3 separate regions of the Homo sapiens genome follow, and all the other regions are linked to region 1. The links are contacts of gene promoters, found by promoter capture Hi-C in blood cells and fetal thymus (Javierre and others, 2016). All regions are on one chromosome and are shown on one strand. Each heading gives the region's core, a stretch centred on a gene start or on the middle of the fragment in contact. The rest is flanking DNA. Distances are from core to core; before and after follow the strand shown.

What was found. The method cuts DNA at HindIII sites, captures the fragments that hold promoters and counts their contacts. A CHiCAGO score of 5 or more calls a contact.
Region 2: a fragment that was not itself captured here is called in contact with the fragment with the promoter of RMI2 in region 1 in 2 of 17 cell types (neutrophils and activated CD4 T cells); the score reaches 6.1 in neutrophils.
Region 3: a fragment that was not itself captured here is called in contact with the fragment with the promoter of RMI2 in region 1 in 1 of 17 cell types (neutrophils); the score reaches 7.0 in neutrophils.

Annotation. Positions count from the first base shown.
Region 1 is chr16:11,343,058-11,348,162 of GRCh38, forward strand. RMI2 (RecQ mediated genome instability 2) reads left to right here and starts at 2,402. Exons shown (of 2, transcript NM_152308.3): 1 at 2,402-2,709. The coding sequence starts at 2,415. The region is part of intron 1 of LOC105371082 (a long non-coding RNA gene); the gene reads left to right. LOC105371083 (a long non-coding RNA gene) reads right to left here and starts at 2,155. Exons shown (of 2, transcript NR_135174.1): 1 at 2,056-2,155. RefSeq lists silencers at 2,471-2,630, 2,651-2,730. The HindIII fragment of the contact is 15,776 bases long and covers 1-5,105 here.
Region 2 is chr16:11,896,155-11,901,259 of GRCh38, forward strand. It overlaps GSPT1 (G1 to S phase transition 1), which reads right to left. Exons shown (of 15, transcript NM_002094.4): 2 at 1,840-1,881; 3 at 1,686-1,727; 4 at 404-631. Among named protein-coding and RNA genes, the nearest start is that of GSPT1, 17 kb to the right of the region's middle. The HindIII fragment of the contact is 4,482 bases long and covers 874-5,105 here.
Region 3 is chr16:11,870,288-11,875,392 of GRCh38, forward strand. It overlaps GSPT1 (G1 to S phase transition 1), which reads right to left. Exons shown (of 15, transcript NM_002094.4): 15 at 1-2,884. The coding sequence ends at 2,832. Among named protein-coding and RNA genes, the nearest start is that of RSL1D1, 21 kb to the left of the region's middle. The HindIII fragment of the contact is 9,746 bases long and covers 1-5,105 here.

The DNA.
Region 1 (5,105 bases), core at 1,152-3,651:
GCCTCAGGAAACTTACAATCATGGCAGAAAGGGAAGCAAACGTCCTTCTTTATGTGGCAGCAGGAAGAAGTAGTGCCGAGCAAAGGGGGAAAAGCACCTTATAAAACCATCAGATCTTGTGAGAACTCACTCACTATCACGAGAACAGCATGGGAGTATCCGCCCCCATGATTCAATTACCTACCACGGGGTCCTTCCCACGATATGTGGGGATTATGGGAAGTACAATTCAACATGAGATTTGGGTGGGGACACAGCCAAACCATATTAGGTGTAGAGGCCAAAACCTCATAGAGGCTACTGAGAGTCTATGGGCCAGCCCTCTAGCTTCCTTAAGCCTCAGTTTCCTCACCTGTGTGGAACAGTCTTTTCAGGGTCTGTGGGGGTACATGGGATACTTCCTACAAAGTTCTTACAATAGGACCTGGCTCAATTTTATAAAAATGAAGCTCTTGGCCGGGTGCGGTGGCTGACGCCTGTAATCCCAGCACTTTGGGAGGCTGAGCGGGCAGATCACGAGGTCAGGAGTTTGAGACTAGCCTGGCCAGTATGACGAAACCCCGTCTCTACTAAAAAATACAAAAATTAGCCAGGCGGGTGGCGTGTACCTGTAGTCCCAGCTACTCAGGAGGCTGAGGCAGGAGAATCACTTGAACCTGGGAGGCGGAGGTTGCAGTGAGCTGAGATGGCACAACTGCACTCCTGCCTGGGTGACACAGCGAGACTCCGTCTCAAAAAAAAAAAAAAAAAAAAATCAAGCTCTTGCTGAATACTCTCTGAATGCCTGGTACTGCAGGAGGCCCTGGGAACTCAAAGTTTCTCTTAAGAACTGACCTTGACTTTAAGGATTGCCTGATTTAGGATCTGTGGACTTTGCTGACTGGGGACATCCAATTTTTAGGGAGAGATTCCTGGGAATTTTATTTGAAGGATGCACAAAAAGATTTAGCTTTTACGGGTGGATCACGAGGTCAGGAGATCGAGACCATCCTGGCTAACACGGTGAAACCTCGTCTCTACTAAAACAAAGTACAAAAAATTAGCTGGGCGTGGTGGCAGGCACCTGTAGTCTCAGCTACTCGGGAGGCTGAGGCAGGAGAATGGCGGGAACCTGGGAGGCGGAGCTTGTAGTGAGCCCAGATGGCGCCACTGCACTCCAGCCTGGGTGACAGAGTGAGACTCCGTCTCAAAAAAATAAATAAATAAATAAATAAAAAAGATTTATCTTTTAAGTAGGTCCACAGTGGATATATTTATAAAGTGAAAAATTGGAAATAGCCTTAATGTCCAACTGTAGGATATTGGTTTAATATGTGATAAGACAAATCGAGTATTATGCAGTCATTCAAGAGGAAGCAGATGGATATTTGCTGATACAGAAAGATGTTCATTATTAAGTGAAAACAATATACAAAACACTATTTGTATATCAGTAATAGGCCAGGCATGGTGGCTCACGCCTGTAATCCCAGCACTTTGGGAGGCCAAGGAGGCAGGATTGCGTGATCCCAGGAGTTCCAGACCACCTTGGGCAACATGGTAAGACCCTGTCTCTACAAAAAATACAAAAATTAGCTGGACGTGGTGGTGCACGCCTGTAGTCCGAGATACTTGGGAGGCTGAGGTAGGAGAATCACCTATGCCCGGGAGGTGAACGTTGTAGTGAGCCGTCACTGTGCCACTGCACTCCATCCTGGGCAACAGAGTGAGACCCTGTCTCAAAAAAAATACACACACATATTTTAAAGCCTAAAGGCTAATATACCCCAAAATTAACAGTGGGTATCTATAAGCGGCTTTTACAATTATTTTCTTGTTCTACATTTTTCCCCTATTTTTTTTACAATAAATGTGCATTTCTTGTCTGAAAAATAGCAATATATTTTATTAACCTTAAAATTATTTGATGCTATTAAAATATAACTGAAAATAATAATAAAAGAAAAGGCAAGTTTGCCAGCTCTCCCCGTCTCCCTCCCCAGCCTTATCTCCTGACTGGATTCTTGCTCACTCCCAATAAACACGGACTCTTAATTCGTTTCAGTATTTACTAACCTCAAAACAAGGCAATGTAAAGATGAATAATCATACTCTGTAGGTGATCTGCATCCACGCCAAATTTTGAGATGCGTTGAAAGAGGAAGTTCTTTACCTCTCTGCCTTCAATTATTTATTCTCGTTTAACCCATTTCCTCCGTTCATTCCTAACTTGAGGGCGTTTATTTACTTTTATCTACGCATGCGCACTCCTGGCTGCTAGAGAGGGCCTCTTCGCCCGGCGGTCCCGCCTTCTGACGTCGACCATTGGCCGGCTCTGCCAGCGCGCTCCTGATTGGTGGCTGAGGGCCGGGCCCCGCTGCTTCTCAAAGTTGGCGGGAAAGCGGAGGCGGGGCGGAAGGGTGCGGCGAGGCGGAATGGCGGCGGCTGCGGACTCGTTCTCAGGCGGCCCCGCGGGGGTGCGGCTTCCGAGGTCGCCGCCACTCAAGGTGCTGGCGGAGCAGCTGCGGCGCGACGCGGAGGGCGGCCCGGGCGCGTGGCGGCTGTCACGGGCGGCGGCGGGCCGCGGGCCGCTGGACCTGGCGGCCGTGTGGATGCAGGGCAGGGTAGTGATGGCGGACCGCGGCGAGGCTCGGCTGAGGGACCCGAGCGGGGACTTCTCGGTCCGCGGCCTGGAGCGGGTGCCGCGCGGGCGGCCCTGTCTAGTCCCAGGTAATGCCCGGGCCTTACCGGGCGCCCTCTTCCCTGCTGCCCGCCGAGAAGTTGCCGAGGCCAGATTCGATCTTGTTGTTGACACTCGAACGGGGGCGGGGCGGGTCTGGCCCTCCTCCGGGCCTCTGCCCCTGCGGGTCCCCGCTTGGGTACCCTTGCTCCGGTCCCTCCTTGGTGAAGTTGATCTGATGATAAGCATCACCTGCCGTCCCTTTTACAAATACAGATTCCTGGGACTCTCCCACCCCTAGTGGGAATCTTCTGGGGAGGGACTCCGGCACCTTCGTTTGTCACAAGCCCCCTCTCCCAGTTGATATCCTTGTTTTGGGAAATACTGTCCTGGGAAACTTCTGCTCATCCTTAACGTCTCAGCTCAAATGTGCCTTTCTCAGGGAAGTCCTCCCTAGCCCCTAGGAACGGGAGACCCTCCTGTACTTCTCCTTAATTGAACTGTCTTGGGCTGTAGCTCACTCATGTTTGCCTCCTCTCTTTTTTTTTTTTTTTTTTTTTTGAGACGGAGTCTCACTCTGTCGCCCAGGATGGGGTGCAGTGGCGCGACCTCAGCTTACTGCAGCCTCCACCTCCCGAATTCAAGCGATTCTCATGCTTCAGCCTCCCGAGTAGCTGGGATTACAGGCATGTGCCACCACACCCGGCTAATTTTTGTATTTTTTAGCAGAGACTGGGTTTTGCCATGTTGGCCAGGCTGGTCTCGAACTCCTGGCCTCAAGTGATCTGCTCATCTCGGCCTCCCAAAGTGCTGGGATTACAGACATGAGCCGCTGCGCCCTGCCTGCTTCCTCTCTTAAACCACTGATGCTCAAACTTGAGCCAGCATCAGTCTCTCCTGGAGGGCTTGGTAAAGCTGGGATGGCTGGGGCTCCACCCTCAGGGTTTGTGAGTCAGGAGGTCCAGGTGGGGCTGGAAATTTGCATTTCTAACCAGCTCCCAGGTGATGCTGATGCTGCTGGTCTGGGGACCATACTTTCGACTTTTTAAATGTTTTATTTATTTGAGATAGGGGACTCACCGTGTTGCCCAGGCTGGCCCTGAGCTCAAGCAATCCTCCTGCGTCAGCCTCCTTGGGTAGCTGGGACTACAGGCCTGTACCACCACGCCTGGTTTGGGGGCCATACTTTGAGAACCACTGGGCCAGCCCAAGCTACTGGAGGGCCAGAGCTGTGTGGTCCTGACAACTGTATCCTCAGCATCTGGCCCAGTTCCTGACACATAAGTGCTCCAAGAACCAATAGTCTTGAGTGATAGGCAATGGGCATCCATCTCACTTGTTCCCTGGGATGTCAGTTGAGCACGTGTTGTACATCAGCCCCTCATGTGCAGTGTTGGGCTGCAGCCGAGACCTAGATAGAGTCTGCTGGGAGACAGGCAGTGAGCAAGTGTCGCAGAGGATCGCTGATCTTTGGGGAGCCATGAGGATGTGCAAGGTGCTGAGTGGCCCGGGGAGGCTTCTAGAGGATGTGAGGTCTAAGCTGAGGAGCTCTGAGGCTCCATGGGCCTTCCCTCACCTCAGCTCCCTCTCCTGGGAAATCAGGCCAAGATCACTTCATTCCTAAGGGCCCTTCCTGCTCAGTCTTGGAGTCTAACTAGAGGCAGATAGGGCTGTGGTCTGGCCTGAGCTGCTGTGGACTCGGAAAGGCTTAGGTCGAATTTCTGGTTCCACCCCTTCCCAACTGAGCTGCCTGGAGCACTCTTGTTAACTTTTCTGGACTTGTACTATTTTGTAAAAAGGAGCTAATCATTCCTGCGTGTTGTGTGGATTCAATAAGTAAACAACTGCCTTAGTACTGCACCTGGCTCACAGTGAGGATGCAAAATATCAGGACTCGTTTACTGCCACATGCTCCTGTTCCGTCTTCCCACTGCCTTACCCATCAGCCTTCCCTCTGTCTGCCTGCCCTCAGCCGCAGCGTTGGTCTAGGACAGGGTCAGCAAACTACAGGCCTCCTCTTTTCATGTGTCCTGCGAACTAAAAATGCTTTTAAAATTTTTATGTATTACTATTATTATTTTTGAGACAGAATCTCGCTCTGTCTCTCAGGCTGGAGTACAGTGACGCAGTCATGGCTTGCTGCAACCTCCACCTCCTGGGTTCAAGCGATTCTCATGCCTCAGCCTCCCGAGTAGCTGGGATTACAGGTGTGCACCACCACACCCGGCTAATTTTTGTAGTTCTAGTAGAGATGGGGTTTCAACATGTTGGCTAGACTGGTTGGTCTGGAGCTCCTGGCCACCTTGGCCTCCCAAAGTGCTGGGACTGCAGGTGTGAGTCATTGCACCTGGCAGGATTTCACATTTTTAAATGGTTGAAAAGAAAATCGTGATATGTGAAAAGTATATGAAATTCAAGCATCAGTGTTCATAAGTTAAGTTTTATT
Region 2 (5,105 bases), core at 1,865-4,364, 550 kb after region 1:
AAATTATTGATTTCCTGCTTCACACAAAATTATCTGGTAAGGTCAATCCCATTAAAATTAACAAGTTAACTGAGGTTCACATAAAAAAGGGCACATTTTCTAAGATACTGATATATAATACTATGCTGAACTACCATCAATGGTCAATAGACTAATTATATGTTACGTACAATATACTGAAGTTTTTCTTCCAGCATCTATGCCGTTACAGAATTATTCATTTGCCTAAACTTCAGGAAAAAAGTACTTGCAATTTTTTGCCAGCTAAAAAAAATCAGCAAGTTAAAAATCAAGACATTTTCAATTAATTTCCTTCAGTTTCACTAAACATCTCCAGGTAGCTAAAAAGGATGTTCTATGTTTTATGTATCCAGTAACTTTAATTGCTATGAGAGCAGCTTACCTACGTGCCCAATGAATACTACATTTACATGCTCTTTCTTAGGAGCACCTGGCGGTGCAACCACAGACTTAGGTTTTGGGATTTCCTCTTCCTCCTCCATCATTTCATGGGCACTTTCCTCTGGCGGCCTTCCATCTCCCAAGGAACCACCCCCTGGCTCTGCTTCACTTATTTCTTCTTTGTGCTCCCATGATTCTTCTGGAGACATTTCTGTCTCTCCATTTTCTACTGAAGAAAGACATTTTAACTTAGTATTCTGAAAAAGACTTACAATCTATACTTTAAAATACACTAGCTTTAAAACAACAAATGGAAGTTTGCATATGTAGTTCCATTTCCTAATGCCTAGTGACACATAAGCAGGAAAACCTCTTTCATAGCAGAAATGGGTGACAGCTTTCAAGGCAGACTCACTGCTGGTATCACATCAGAGGGCACTGACTCACAGGCTGAGATTGCTATTTTAGCAAAGCTTCATTTTCATAATGGCAAACAAAATGCAAACAAGAGTTCTAACATTCCCAACAGCCTAGTTATTCCAGTGTTGAGACACCCTGATAGTAAGAAAAAAAGGAAAGTTTAAAATCGTGACACACGAGAAATATGAAAGGATTTAGGAAATATTTTCTTTTTCCTCTTAAACTAATAAAACTTTGGCATCAACTTTAATCACGCTGAGAACGTGAAACCCTTAAGAATAAAGTTATAAAAAGGAAGAACATTTTTCACCAAGAAAACAGAACGTGTGGCCGAGCATGGTGGCTCACACCTGTAATCCCAGCACTTTCGGAGGCCGAGGTGGGTGGATCACGAGGTCAGGAGTTCGAGACCATCCTGATCAACATGGTGAAACCCCGCCTCTACTAAAAATACAAAAATTTGCCAGTTGTGGTGGTGTGCGCCTGTAATCCCAGCTACTCAAGAAGCTGAGGCAGGAGAAGCGCTTGAACCTGGGAGGCGGAGGTTGCAGTGACCCAAGATTGCACCACTACACTCCAGCCTGGGCGACAGAGCAAGACTCCGTCTCAAAAAAAGAAAACAGAACAGGTACAGGTATTTAAATTGACTTGACCATTCCTCCACTCAATTTTATTTGCAATCATTAAGTTTATCAAGGCAGTGTTAGTGCCTAGTTTGTTCTACTTTCTAAATACTAATAGCAAAGACTCAATGTGTCTTAAATGTAGGCATTACAATAATCGTAACTTACATAATGCACCTTAAATCTTGAGAGTGAAAGAGTTTCATATTACTGTATTAATATGGTCAGAAATTTTCTTACCAATAGGTTCTGAAAGTTCCATGCTAACAGCTGAATTTGAACCTAGACAAGAGATTGAAATATAATATATATTTACCAAACAGTATCTAGCTTTACACACCATATAGACAACCTAATGTTTTCTCAAGTAGACTTTCAAAGAGTACATCATTACCTTCACACAATGACTGTTCCTCTTGAGAGGATTCCACAGGTGCTGTTTAACAGAAAGAAGTTCTATTAAAAATTGATACTTATCCATCCATTTCACTTATCTTTTAATATGCAGTAAAAACAGAAGTTCAATAACACGACACAAGCCTCAATCAATAACCCCAGATCAATGGCAGCTAACTCAGGCCTTCAAGTTAGAAGTCTCTGCTTAACCTACTTTTCAAAATTCTACTAATTACAGCCAATTTTGAAACATTTTCAGTAGTTTCAATGTATTCATAAAAACATGCTTATTCTTTTGATTTGCTTTATAAACCTTTTCTTCACAGATACTGTCAAAGTAATTTGCAGCTCAGCACAGATCAAATTAGAGATGTGCTCAACAAATACACATCTACTTCCCGTGATTCTCTCTAGGTAACCCAGCCCAAGAAAGCTGTGATTAGCCCTTTTTTTTTTTTTTTTTTTTTGAGACTGAGTTTCACTCTTGTTGCCCAGGCTGGAGTTGGAGTGCAATGGCACGATCTTGGCTTACCGCAACCTCCATCTCCCCGGTTCAAGCGATTCTCCTGCCTCAGCCTCCTGAGTACCTGGGATCACAGGTGCATGCCACCATGCCCGGCTAATTTTGTATTTTTAGTAGAGATGGGGTTTCGCCACGTTGGTCAGGCTGGTTTTGAACTACGACCTCAGGTGTTCTGCCCACCTCGGCCTCCCAAAGTGCTGGGATTACAGGCTTGAGCCACCGCATCCAGCCTGTGATTAGCCCTTTTTAATATTCCATACTCATGTTATCAAAATCCCTGAATAAATTAGATACCTATAAGATAAATGACATGTGTATAAAGTCCTGAAACATATATAAGCCATTAAAAATATCTGCAGAAAAGGTGATTCCAATGATGCCAGTTTTTTCCTATACTAGAACTCTAAAACCAAGCAACAATCCAGTTTCCAGTTGCCACACTGCAAATTTACTTATGACATTACTGGAAGAGATGTAGGAGAAATACATACTAATAACCAAATATCTAAGTCTGCTTTTTGGATTTTAGTTTGTCAGATACAGACAAACCTAAATTATACTCCAATATGAACGTGCCCCTGCTTTAAAGAATCTCCACGACAGAAAACGATACTAAAGAATTAAATCATATGAATCATGCACAGCAAGTATGAAAAAATAATGAATTTGTAACCTGTAAAATCATTGCCCGGAAAGGATCAATACCTGTAAGAGTCAAGAGAAAGTGTTTTGGGCCCAACCTTCAATAGCATCAAATGTTGAGTAAAGTAATTTCCTGTCCCTGATAGGTAAAGGACAACCAAATTGTTTTCTTTTTTTTTTTAAGTGACAGGCTCAGACTGTCACTTAGGAAGATCTTTTTCTTGCAGCTTAAACTACATGAACTAGAGTGGGCAAGACCCCACAGGCAGGAAGACCCACATCACCACTGCAAGAAAGCATGCCATGGAGACAACCAAGCAATACAACTAGGAGGGGATGGGGGCTACACCTGACAGGAGTTGGGAGAAAGGGAGAGTAAAAGGTCTAAGATGACCCCAAGCTGTGGGATGAGCAGGACATTAACAAACAGGGGGGAAACGCATTTGAACCTGGTTTGGAAGGAGGCAGAAACTGTACTTCAACACAATACAGATTAACTTTTTTTTGCTTTTCCATTTTCAAGAAAAGTTTAAGGATAAGGTAAGGAAAAATTACTCAGTTTTCAGAGGAAGCCAGGTAGTACTGAGAGTATCAAGTTCACAGGCCACCCTAAGAAGGAGGTGACTGCATGGGGTACTTCTCAGAGCCTGGAACTGAGCTGACTCCTAGGTTTAACTCCTGGCTTATTACAAGCTGTGCCTGCACTTATTCCACTGAAATTGTGGAAATGATATACCATCTACCTGAGAGGATTGTTGAGGAGTTTATGGGAGGAAATGGGAGAATAATTTGTTTAGTGTCAGTTAAAGAACTCCTGGCGTATTCAACAAATGTGTCTCCATCTGCTATGTAACTACTCCAACTCAATCCTATCAATATGTATTGAGTATCAGCCAGGCACGGTGGCTCACACCTGTAATCCCAACACTTTGGGAGGCGGAAGCGGGGGGATCATTTGAGTTCGGGAGTTCAAGACCAACCCGGCCAACATGGCAAAACCCTGTCTCTACTGAAAATACAAAACAATTAGCTGGGTGTGGCATACACCTGTAATCCCAGCTACTCGGGAGGCCAAGGCAGGAGAATCGCTTGAACCCGGGAGGTGGAGGTTGCAGTGAGCCAAGATCACGTCACTGCACTCCAGCTTGGACAAGAATGAAACTCCGTCTCAAAAAAAAAAAAATTAATAAAAATGAATACATATATATATGTATTGAGTATCTATTATGGGCCAGACAAGGATAAAAGTACTCACAAATCCATATTGTGTAGGGAGTGGGGGATGGAGGGGGTAGCAATTTGCTTTAACTAATTTTTATTGAGCCCTAAGTGCCGACTGCTAGCTCATTCCCACCAAAAGCCTTAGGAAACAGATCCTGTAATCACTACCATCTAACATACAGGCACATCAGAATCAACTGCAGGCATTTCCAAGTTATGCAAGTGCCATCTTCCCCTTCCTCAGATAGTCCCTGCTGAAAATCAGTGTACAAGTAAACTAAGCTCTGACGGACACACAGTTATGATGTACTGCGTATCTTAAGGCAGGAAAATGACGGGTGTGGTGGGCTTCCTCACCACTCTCAAGTGTATCACTAACTGTAACAGCTTTTCAAAACAAAACAGTACTTACACCTGACCACTTAGTTCCTGGCACCAACTATTAGATTTACAATACAGATGGCTCCTCAACTTACAATGGATTGTAAGTTGCAAATGGGTTGGGCATGGTGGCTCACACCTGTAGTCCTAAACCTCTGGGAGTCCAAGGTGGGAGGATGGCAAGAGTTTGAGACCAGCCTGGGCAACATGGCAAAACCCCACCTGTACCAAAAAAAGAAAAACAAAAAACAAAAAACAAAAAACTGTCGGGAATGGCGGCATGCGCCTGCAGTCCCAGCTGCTCCGGGGGCTGAGCCTGGGAGGGTCAAGGTTGCAATGAGACCTGACTACACCACTGCACTCCAGCCTGGGCGAGAGAGTGACACCCTGTCTCAAAAAATAAAAATAAAACCGATATATTTCTACCCTATCTTCATACATACACAGTAAACCTTTACTTGTTCATTCTACTCTGGTCTTATTCATGACTCACATAA
Region 3 (5,105 bases), core at 1,609-4,108, 530 kb after region 1:
AGTAAGAAACAAGGGTTTAAAATGGCAATTACTTAGATGTTTATTTCAATATTTCTTAAATTCACTTTATTAATTTAAAAAACTAAATAATCGCATGAAAGTTATATAAAGAACATCATTAATGTGAAAAGATGCAAGAAAAAAATCATTCTAGTAGAGCAACGTTAGAGAACAAATGCTTAGGTAATACCCTAAATATGCAGCCAACTACCCTATTTTTGCACTGTTGACCATATAAGCACGTTTGCATTTGCAGAAAACAGAATGACAGCATAGGAATTTGTATTGCTCTATAACGGTCCAACATCTCCACATAATGCCAAGTTCACCTTAGACATTTTATTTACTTATCCAAATGAACAGCCTGTGTAAGCAGGATTGAAAATGCATCAACTTTAAAAAGATGAGAACAATTTTCAAAGCCCATAGAACTTATGTTGCTGGTTAATTTTAGCACTGAAATTTCTTTTGAATAATCTAATCTTGCAAATATGCAAGAATCCAGTGGAATTTTTACAGTTACATTTGTATTTGTATGACCTGTTACTTTTTAGAGGTAGGCCCTTCACAGTTGATATCCAAGTTACTTAAGAGTCTTGGCAACATGCACATAATAGTCTAACAGTGTAAATGTTTTAGTAGCAAACATAACTTATTTTTTAAAAATGTGTTCTATTTAGAAAGGGAACTCTTATCTCTGGAAGTGATTTCCGTGGCTCTTGAACTTTTAAATATTCATTAAAATTCAAGCAATTGCTAGTATTTGTTTTTATTAACATGGAATTACAAAAAGAACTATTATGTTTTGATTAAAGCTCCTATATTTTCCAGAAAAATAAAAGCCCAGAGATTTGCAGACATAATAAAATCTATTTAAATTTCATGCAATAGCCATAATTATAGTTTTAAGAATCTGTAGGACAATAACTTTGCTCTGTCCATAAGATGTAGCCTCATTCAAGAAATGAATGGGAATTTCACAGTTAAGAAAACACTAGGCCAAGTGCGGCGCCTCATGCCTGTAATCCCAGCACTTTTGAGAGGCTGAGGCGAGTGGATCACTTGAGGTCAGAAGTTTGAGACCAGCCTGACCAATAGGGGGAAACCTCGTCTCCACTAAAGATACAAAAATTAACTGGGCCTCGTGGAGGGCTCCTGTAATCCCAGCTACTCAAGAGGCTGAGGCAGGAAATTGCTTGAATCCGGGAGGTGGAGGCTGCAGTGAGCTGAGATCGAGCCACTGCACTCCAGCCTAGGTGACAGAGTGAGCCTCTGTCTCAAAACAAAACAAAACACCCATTAGATTAAGTTTTATGTTCTGTGACTGGAAATACAGTCTGTCTAGGCTTTTCTTTTCTGAGGAGCAAAATTATAGGGAAGAGACTTGTCATTAAATATACAAAGTATCTTATTTAGAGAGAAATCACAATCTAAAAGAGGCTATCTTTGATCAATGGCAACACTCAACATCAAGGGGGCTTTGGATAAACCCACAAATTGCCTCCATTCCTCATTTATTCTCATGAAAAATTTCAAAGTCATGATAATTATAGCAGAGAGTCATTCAATCTAAAACCCACACAATGCTGCACTGTGGTTCATCAAAAACATGGTTAGCAAATTTCAGCTTTACACTTAAGAAAACTCAGTCAATTTCAAATAATTGAGATAAAACTTATACCCTGCTTGATTCTGCTTATCGCTGATAATTTTAGTCTGTTCAGATTCTGATGATTCTAAATATTTTCATTTAGTTGCTAGGTTGAGATTTAGCTTTAACCAGCAAGGATCATCCAACCTTTAAAGTTACTGATACAAAGAGTAAACTGAGTAACTTGTAGAAGTGGCACTTGCAACTGATACGGTTTTCATACTAGAGGCATGCAGCTCTATTTATAAATACTACCAGAGGAATTTTTGCCAGGTCTCAAACATGCTTTATTTGTTGTTAATTCCACTAATTTAACAAGTTAATGGAATTTTCTCTAGGGGTACAATTTCATTACGCTTTACTTATAAAAACTACAGTATGCTGTTCTTTTATTTTAAAACAACTTACTGTGTTCAAGAAATCATGTTACAATATAAATTGGCAAAAAAAAAAAAAATAAATAAATAACTAAAAGACCTAGTAAAGCAGTGTCACATTTGCATAAAGGGATTTAACTGCATGTATGCATTAACCATCAAAAGAAGGGGTCAAACTAATCCTTTCCTTTAATACAAACTTGAACGCTGTGAATGTCTCATTTATAGTGGGTAGGGAAAGAGTTTATAAAAGTCCAAGTAATAAAATGTATTCAATTACTTGGGAAAGTTAAAAAGCTAATGCAACAATGTTACATCCAGATAAAAAACATTATTCAAAAGCAATTCAAATACCGAAAAGGATTTCAAATTGAATATTTTATTAACATGGTAGTTGCCTTTGTAACATGTGCACACACACTCGCACACTCAGAATGATCTGCCTGGGGGAAAAATACTAAATATGCCTAAGGGGAAAATGAAAAATAAAAAAATTCCTGTAGGTTTTCATTATTGTAGGCAATTATGTCCACATCACTTACAAAGCTATTGCCAAATCTGTCCAAGGAAGCAGAGTTTGAAGTGAGGGCTAGGGACAGGAATCTTGGGAAAAATTCAACAGTGGCATAGCAGAGCTCTCAATATGAGAAAGCTGACATAATGTGGACTTTTGCTGTGAATTTCCTCTTTGCAAAATATGGGGAGAGGTTTATCAATGGGCAGAAAATAAGAGAAGGCGGTGTGAAGTAGGCTTCTGCAGTCAATTTTCCTCACAGTATTGTGCAGGGTCATCAAGAAAATGCTTAGTCTTTCTCTGGAACCAGTTTCAGAACTTTTCCAATTGCAATGGTCTTACCTAGAAATGAAATTTTAAAAAAATCTTTCAGTAGTTAACAGCAAGTCTATATAAGATATTAAAACTTATTATTTTAAATCACAAAAATATTTTTTACAATGTAAGTTACTAATTAACTAGCTTTACTGCCAAACCCATGATACTTCTATTTAGGTAGTCTTAATAAGAGGGTCTTATTTGGGGGGGCTGGTAAAGAGATGGTTCCCTGTATCAAAAACCTATCTCCCCCCGTACCCCCCAAACAATTCTCCTGCCTCATCCTCCCCAGTAGCTGAGATACAGATGCCTGCCACCACGCCCAGCTAATTTTTGTATTTTTAGTTGAGACGGGATTTCACCATGTTGGCCAGGCTGGTCTTGAACTCCTGACCTCAGGTGATCCACCCGCCTCAGCCTCCCAAAGTGCTGGGATTACAGGCATGAGCCACTGCATAAAGACAGAGTCTTACTCTGTCACCCAGGCTGGAGTGCAGTGGTGCGACTTCAGCTGACTGCAACCTCCTCCTTCTGGGTTCAAGTGATTCTCCTGCCTCAGCCTCCTGAGTAGCTGGGAGTATAGGTGCTTGCCACCATGCCCATTCTAATTTTTATATTTTTAGTAGAGGCAGGGTTTCACCATGTTGGCCAGGCTGGTCTTGAACTCTTGGCCTCAGGTGATCCGCCTGCCTCGGCCTCCCAAAGTGCTGGGATTACAGGGGTGAGCCACCACACTGGGCCAAAAAACCTCTTTGGATTAAAAATAAGAAAAGGGAATATCCGTATTTGTGGAATATCCACCCAGTGGAGTACTATTCAGTGATACAAAGGAATAAATAACATGTTACATGGTTGAACCTCAAAATCACACTAAGTAAAATAAACTAGACAAAGGACCACATAATTTATAATTCTATTTATGGAGTGTCTATAAAAGACAAATTGAAAAATGGTTGCCTGGGGTGGAGGTGGGAATAAGGGGTGATTATGAACAGGTGTAAGGTTTCTTTTTAGGTGTTCTAAATGTTCTAATATTAGTATATGGTGATGGTTGTACAATTCTGTAAACATACTAAAATTCATTGAATTACATACTTAAAACAGGTCAATTTCATATTATGGAAATTGTATCTCAATAAAGCTGCTAAAAAAAAAAATCCCAAAACCTATCCTTAAGTAACTGTGAAAAGGCACAGCAATCACCACTGACTACAGTGCAGTGAACACGTCCTTCTGGTAGTAATCCTGTGGACTGAAAGGATACAAAACCCATTGGGTCTTGTGGAAAACCTAAAAGCCAAGTTAGCTTTTTTTTTTTTTTTTTTTTTTTTTTTTTTAAAGCCAAGTTAGCTTTTAGGAAAAAATAATTCTAGGGTTAAGAATTCCTGCTACATTAATTGCTTTTCTTCTGTCTTCCTGATTTTATCAGGTTCTGAGTGGTAAACTAAAACTATCATTTTGTTATATTAATAAGATAAACCCAATAACCAGTTTTACTATCAACCAGAAGAGTTCTGGGCCTTTAAAGTAAAATAAACACTGTCTTTATACAATTTCATCCAATGTAAAGTTCAGGAACTGTATTCATCACCAGGGCTTAGCACAGTTCCTGACACTTTGTAGATACAAAGTAGTTTTTGCTAAATGGAATTGGAATGAACATGTGAAATGACTATTCTGTATTTCAATGGAACTATAAAGTTTTATGTAAAGTCTTCTATAGTCTTAAAATGGTTATCTAAGTTAGAAATATTAACAGCTGGGCCGGGCACGGTGGCTCACGCCTGTAATCCCAGCACTTTGGGAGGCCAAGGCGGGCGGATCACGAGGTCAGGAGATCAAGACCATCCTGGCTAACGTGGTGAAACCCCGTCTCTACAAAAATACAAAAAATTAGCCAGGCATGGTGGCAGCACCTATAGTCCCAGCTACTCGGGAGGCTGAGGCAGGAGAATGGCGTGAACCTGGGAGGTGGAGCTTGCAGTGAGCCAAGATGGTGCCACTGCACTCCAGCCTGGGTGACAGATCGAGACTCCATCTCAAAAAAAGGAAAGGAAAGGGAAGAGGAAAGGGAAAGGGAAAGGGAAAGGAAAAGGACAGGAATATTAAAAGCTCATAAGGAAACGTTTCATAACAATCATTTTGTTTTTATGCCAAAGAACTTCATGACCCCAAGATGGGAATGTTAGTTGTTCTGCGTCACCCAGAGGTAGGCAGAAATGGATGCACACAAAAGGTCACAAAG